Regions from separate parts of the Homo sapiens genome. Here region 1 is linked to region 2. The links are contacts of gene promoters, found by promoter capture Hi-C in human tissues and cell types (Jung and others, 2019). All regions are on one chromosome and are shown on one strand. Each heading gives the region's core, a stretch centred on a gene start or on the middle of the fragment in contact. The rest is flanking DNA. Distances are from core to core; before and after follow the strand shown.

Region 1 (3,554 bases), core at 10-2,509, 470 kb before region 2:
TCTTTTTGAAATAAAAATCATACACAAGTTTTAAAGGGTTATGCAGCCAAATAGTCCACTTTTTTCTATGTGTGCTTGCTGTCACTTTTAAACTAAGAAAGTCTACCATCTGGAGATCTGACAAATACTTGATATATTATTCATTTCCTTATGATTTAGTTTTTAAACTTCTTTAATACATTAGAAATCTATTTTTTTCGGGTTTTGTGAGGTTGAGGGTTCTAATTTCTGGCTTGGTATTTATCAGATAAAGGATCTTAATTTATAACTCTAAATTCTTTTATCTTTTTAATCCCTAGAGTCATCACTTTCCCCATGGCTAAGTATGAAAAGAGATAAAAGGTTAGAGATGTGAATGTGAAAGACTGATTGTTGTTTTCCTAATTAACGTGGACCGAGAGTCTGTGAGAGAGAATGACTTTCTTTGAATGTTTTCACAGTCCCCTTAATAACATGACTTTTGCTTGTTTGTATCAAATTAAGGCAGAAATGACTTAGATAGATTGGCCCAAACATACTTAAAGTACTCATAATTAGGCAAAATAAAGGAACATAGAGACTCTCAAGTTTTGCTAGAATCTATCACCTGTGAAAGGTAAATATAAATACATGACTTTTAGATTATTAGAAAAAGTAGAAGCACACTTCTTTTTAAGAGAAACTGTATATGGAATTTTGGGAGAAAATAGACTTTATCTGGCCAAATGTGGGGCATTTGGCTGTGAGACTGGACAGAAAGTCATCTTAACAACGGGTTTTGGCATGAATTAAGCAGAGCTGCAAAGAACAGGTTTCTGTTGCCACTCTTTGTAAGGTCCACAGGACTGCAGTTTTAGGCAAAACAATCCATCGGAACCAATGAGGGAGGACTCATGCAGAAGTTCAAGTTCAAAGAGGGGTCCCAAATGCCTTCACAGTGTATGGAGAAGATACAGAAGGCCAGGGCCTTGACCATAAACCATACTAGTCCCCCAAGCTCTTTCTCCAGTGGCTTCTGCTTGTATCTTTTGGCAGAAAAGTAAATGAGGGTTGAGAACAGAGAGGGAGATAGCAGAACTGGGAAGCCAAGACACATACAGCATTGCTAAGTAGTATAAAAGGAACAGAAAGAGGGGAAGAATGAGGCTAGGACACTTAGGGAGACTTGTTTATCATTTTAAACATGTTTTTGTTCATCTACTTGTTTTCTTGCTTATTTGCTTGTGTATTTGTTTATCTGTACCTATGTACCAAGTATTATGTTCGGAACCAAAGATAAATAAGCCTAAATATTCTGAACCTTCATCCATTCACTGAGTATTCACTGAGGTTCTACTATGGGCCATCATCCTTTTTAAGAGTTTGAGGTACATGCAAGAACAAAACAGACATGGTCTTCTCTCTTATAGGAGCTCTACTTATCTCTCTCTGTCTTAAAATATTTAAAACATAGAAACATAAATGAAAACATATCACATATTCCTGTATTATCTCCAGGTTTCACAAATGTTAAAATTTTCATATTTGTTTCAAGTATTATTTTTAAAAGTTAAATCTTTTATTTCATTATAGCTACAGTTAGAGCTGCTTTAACCACTCTCTAATTTCATGTTCCTTCTGCTCTTCAGGGAAGTAATTAATTGTCTTGACATTGGCAGTCTTCCAATTTTTAAAAGTATATTACTACACACATACTTGTTCATGAAAAACTTGTAGTGCAATTTTATAATTTGAAGATTTTGAAATGATGTTTTAGGTATGAAATGACAACTCGTTTTTTATACTTCACATCAGGATTTCAGATAATTCATACACATTTATTAAATATCCTCTATGCCACAGGAAATACTCTAAGTGCTAGAAGAAAACAGTGAAGAAAACAAACTAAAGTCTTTGCACTCATGAAGCTTATATTCTAATAGGATAATAGACAATGAACAACAAAATATGAAATATTCGATTAAGGCTGCTGTTACAAACTGAATTTTGTACCTCCCAATATACATATGTTGAAGGTCTAACCCTCAAAGTGACAAATATTTAGAGAGAGAAACTTTAGGGAGGGAATAAGATTAAGAGAGGTCATTAGGTAGGGTTTTGATCCCACAGGACATGTGTGCTTATAAAGAGACACCACCAGATAGTTCTCTGAGATTGAGAGGCCTTGTGAGGACACAGCAAGGTGCCACTCATCTGCAAGCCAGGAAGACAGCTCTCACCAGGAATCCAATCTGCTGACACCTTGATAGGGACTTAGAACCTCCAGATGAGTGAGGATGTATATTTCTGTTGTTTAAGCCACCATCCTGTGGTGTTTTTTTATGGAAGCCAAGCTGACTAATGCAGCGGCTTTATAACTGATAAGTGCTAACAAGAAAAATTAAGAAAAGGGAGAGGAAGTAATAGGGTTCAGATCAGAAGCTGAGATGAAGCATCCAGGGAGGTATTAACCAAGAAGCTAATCTTGAGGAAAGCTCTGAAGAAAATAAAGGAGCTGGTCATTTGGCTACATGAGCAAACACAGAACTGCAAGTTCAAAGACTGAGGCAGAAGCATCCCTGGTGCATTCTAGGAAGAGGAGGAGGTCCAGATGGCTGGAGTACAGGGAAAGAGAGGAAGGGAGGGAAGAGATGGGGCCTGAGAATAACAGAAGCCAGATCATGTAGAAACCAAGGGAGAGTAAGAAGAAGAATGATAGCATCCAACATTCATTTGAACAAATCGCTGTGAGCAGTCCTGTTGAGAAAAGACAGAAAGAACCAAGGGCAGCAGCAGGGAAACCTCTTGTAAAAACTCATTTCAGTAACAAAAGCAAAAGATAATGGTGGTTTCAATCAGACAGGTGGCAGTGGCAGTGGGGTGATGGGAAGTGATCAGGTTGGAGATCAATTTTGAAAGATCTAAGCAACTGTCAGAATCATCTTGGCAGTAAAAGAAGTGAGGAAGACTGCATGGGGAACAGCTTTGAGCTCCCAGGAGCCAAAGTCCAAGACTTGCAGATGAGATGTTGACTAAATGGGTTGTGAGACAGAGGGGTCTGGAATTTAGGGGAAAGATCTGGGCTGGAGGTGTAACTTTAAAGTCATTAGCACCAGGTTGACATTTAGAGCCACAAAAATTGATAAGGTCACTTAAAAAGTAAATGTTGCTTGCAAAGAGAAGTCCAAAGGAAATTTTAGAGATGACCATCAACCAGCAAAGAAGACTGAGAGATTGGCCAGAAATTTAGGAGGAGAACCAGGTGTCATAGCTGGATGTTAAATGAAGAAAAAAGTTTCAAAGGGAAGTCATCAGATGCATCAAATTTATCAATGTTGATGCATGTAGATCAAGGCCATTTATTTATTTTCCATATATTCTATCATATGAACATAGCCATTTTTATTTATATACTCCTATAATAATACATACTTTGGTTATTTATGATGTTTCACTTTTATCCGTCATGTAGCAATGATTATCTGTGTTCATGAATGACAGATGCTTTAGGGTATAAGTAGATGAAAAAATGTTGAGTTGTGGAATATACATCCTCAACTTTTCTAGCTGTTGCTAAATAGCTTTTCAAAGGGATT
Region 2 (3,539 bases), core at 286-2,785:
AAAATGTATAGCATATAAAATATGTGTTAGTCGACTGCTTATGTTATCCATAAAGTTTCCAGACAACAGTAGGCTATTAGTAGTTAAGTTTTTGGAGTGAAAAGTTATATGCGGATTTTTGACTACACGAGGGTCAGTGCTCCTAACCCCCATGTTGTTCAAGGGTCAACTGCCCTTACTTTATTGAGCCACATCTGCATCATCTATTAAAATAGAGAAATAATAGTCTAGACTGAATAGAGTTGTTGGAAAAATGAAATGAAATAACATGTGTAACACATGTCTGTCACATAACAAGTTCTCCATAAACATTAGCTATTCTGCTATTAATAATCATTGTTATAACTATGAGTTCTAATTCTAGGCCTGCTGAAAGCTATTAAAATATGGCATGACTGCCTTAACTGGGATACTATTTCTATTGTCACACACTTGGGAATCTTATTGGATGTTTATATATATCATTTTATCAGTTCTTTACACACATTGATCATTTGGCCACAGAGCAGTTGTACAAATAGATTATTTAGTAACCTATCAATTCAATCAAAATAACTTGCTCTATTACAATCAGTGATGGGGGAGGAAATCCTCCAAGCACCTTGCTTGAAGAGAAATGTAGAAACCACATCGGGCAAAAAGTCCCCCTCCAGCCACTGTGAAACCCAAGTTGTCGTCAGTAACTTGACATTCTAGGGTAGGAATCAGGACAGGAGAGAGGTGATCTCTCCTTTTGACCTTGTGTATTCTGACCTCAGAAATAAGAGCTGGAATTGCCTTCTGGAATGGGCCTGTCACAGTATTGTGTGATTTGGGGGACCCCCTTCATCTGGGAGAGAAGGGTGGTCTCAGCTTCCACCTCAGAAATTTCTGACCCTTAATATACCTCCACCCCATCTCTAGTTAAAGGCTTAAAACTCTAAGATTTTCCTATGAGGACAAAAAGAAAAGGAAATCTGAGCATTTGAAGAAATTCTTAAAAGTCGATGAGTGAGGTTTCCCTCACACATGCCATCTTCCCCTACCTCTCCTCTTGAAAACAATGTCTTTTGCACCCTCAAGGTCAAGGTTAAACCCGAGTTGGTACTCATTTCCTTTCTGATTTTATTTGCCTTATCCTGTTCTACTCCTCAATTGCCTCTTCCAGAATCTGTGCAAAATAATTACCTCAACTTCAGGGGAAAGTTTAGATGTAAATACCCCCGCCCCCCTCCCCACGTCCACACATCCCCTTTCTTCTCTCTCCCTCTTAACATTTCCTTACGCTCTCAGCCAATAGAGGAGTTGAAACATTTAAATGCGGTATCTAAACTGCATTTAAAGAATTAACCCATTTTGCCCCTCACTGGTCTAAACCACAGGGTGCCAACCGGACGTTAATTGCTTTCATCTGGTGGGGTTCCAGACAGCTCCTCAGAAGGAAGGAGCGCACATTCCTGGCACCAATTGGCTAATTCAATTTACTTCAGCGGCATTAGCCTCTGTCAGAATATTCATGAGCAGGGGAATGAGGACCCGCGGTACAGGCAGGCAGCAGCCACTCCTGCTAGGGAAGGCGCGAGGGAGGGGAAGCGGACCGCGCGCCACGCTCGGGGGACGGTGACCGCGACCAGGGGGCTCTTCTCACTGGACAGGCCGAACGCGGTGGCCGCGGGAGGGCAGGGCAGGGCATCGGCGGGGTTGGTGCACTTGGCAGTACCCCCCAACTCCTGGCAACCGCACGGAGACTTTGCGAAACATCCGAAGGCAGAAAAGCTGTGACACTTCTGACAGAGGGGGTAGGGGGGTGGGGGGCGGGGACAGCGCCGCGAGCAGGGGTGAAGAGACCCAGCGGGGCACCAGCCGCCCAGTGGGGGAGGCAGCTACGTGAGCAGAACGCCCGCCCTGGAGCAGTTAGGACCGAAGGTCTCCGGAGAGTCGCCGGCGGTGCCAGGTAACGCAGAGGGCTCGGGTCGGGCCCCGCTTCTGGGGCTTGGGACTCCGGGCGCGCGGAGCCAGCCCTCTGGGGCGAAATCCCCGGGCGGCGTGCGCGGTCCCTCTCCGCGCTGTGCTCTCCCAGCAACTCCCTGCCACCTCGACGAGCCTACCGGCCGCTCCGAGTTCGACTTCCTCGGACTTAGTGGGAGAAGGGGTTGGAAATGGGCTGCCGGGACTGGGGGAGCTGCTCTCTGGAAGCAGGGAAGCTGGGGCGCACCGGGGCAGGTGGAGGACGTGGCGCGCTGGGAGCGGGGACTGCGCGCGCCTGGGGATGGTGACTGGGGATCCAGGAGCGCGGCTTGTGGGGGCGCTTGGCACGGCTTCACCCTCGCTGGCCCCGCAGGCGGTGGCGCCTCCCTCCGCCTGCAGAGGGGACAGGGTGGCCGCGTCCCTCGCACAGAGATGTGCGCCGGGAAGGGGACCAGAGAGCCAGGCTCCGGGGAGGCGCAGGCACCTACGGGGCCGATCCCTGGTCCGTGCCTCGCGCCGCGCCCCCGCCGGAGCTCGGCTGTGGGAGGAGAATGTGGTGGGTACTCGAGTCCCCGCCACCTGCCGGACTTCGCCAACTCCCCGGATTTCCTGTCCTCGGGCCCTGACACTCCCAAGGAAAGCTCTGAATTGCGCTCGCTGTTTGGTTTTTGCTTGTTGTAGTTACTCTGGGGGAAGAGCCGGGGGCAAGGGGGTCAAATGGGGCTAAAGTTTCAGATTTGCAAAGAGAACGTTACCGAGGACTCTCAACGTGTCCTTAGCAATCGGAGAGACTGCAGCAGCCTTTGCCTAGCTATCCGCCTCTGGGGCAGCAGTGGGGGCTGAAATCTGGAAGGCAGCCCGGAGGCAGCGTCAGAGCCTTGTTTTGTTTTGTTTGTTTCTGCCGAGACCAGGCTGGAAGTGAGAGGGGATAGTACCAGACAATCGGGGAGTTGGTCGCCTGGTAGATTCAGAGTTTACTATGTTGTTGCTATTATTATTAATGCTCTTGTTATTGGCACGAGCACCAGGAACAATTTTTTTTCTGATTGTTATAAATCGCCTGCAAATTGAACCTGCAGCCGCCTCCCCTCAAATGAAATGTCCCCGGACCTCCTCCAGTCTCTGATGTGTGTCTTTCCACCAAAGGAAATTACCCACTCAGAGCTGTGGTGCTGTCAGGGACTCAGCTAAGGAATTGGATCTACCTAAGAACAACAAAAAGTTGAAACTAGGATGAGTTTGAACCCACGCTTATAGATGAGTATTATGTTCCTATCTGCTCACCTTCCTCAGCCGCCTCTGGCTGGGGAACCCTGAAGGCATAGCCATCTTGAGAGTTGACCCAGCGTTTCCCTTTCATTTATTTATATAACCTGGGAAAATCTTTTCCCTTTAGTGTCACCCTTGCAGTCTCGTTGGACATGCTGAAAGGATTCAGGTCCTGACACTGGAGGAATCCGTAAGGGCACCTGTGGTTGCCAACTCTTGGCTTGACCCTGTTCAGATGTTGCCCAGGGTGCAGGCTTGGGCAGCTGATGCAGCAGAAAGCTGGGCGAGGGTGTGGGAGAACAGTATGGCAGAGTTAAGCTGAG

The links. The method cuts DNA at HindIII sites, captures the fragments that hold promoters and counts their contacts. A contact is called where the count stands out against the background at its distance.
Region 1: a fragment that was not itself captured here is called in contact with the fragment with the promoter of CDH20 in region 2 in 4 of the 25 tissues and cell types used here (IMR-90 fibroblasts, aorta, mesenchymal stem cells and 1 more).

The regions. Positions count from the first base shown.
Region 1 is chr18:60,857,752-60,861,305 of GRCh38, forward strand. No RefSeq gene overlaps it. Among named protein-coding and RNA genes, the nearest start is that of CDH20, 470 kb to the right of the region's middle. The HindIII fragment of the contact is 7,873 bases long and covers 1-3,554 here.
Region 2 is chr18:61,331,895-61,335,433 of GRCh38, forward strand. CDH20 (cadherin 20) reads left to right here and starts at 1,536. Exons shown (of 12, transcript NM_031891.4): 1 at 1,536-1,933. The HindIII fragment of the contact is 19,388 bases long and covers 1-3,539 here.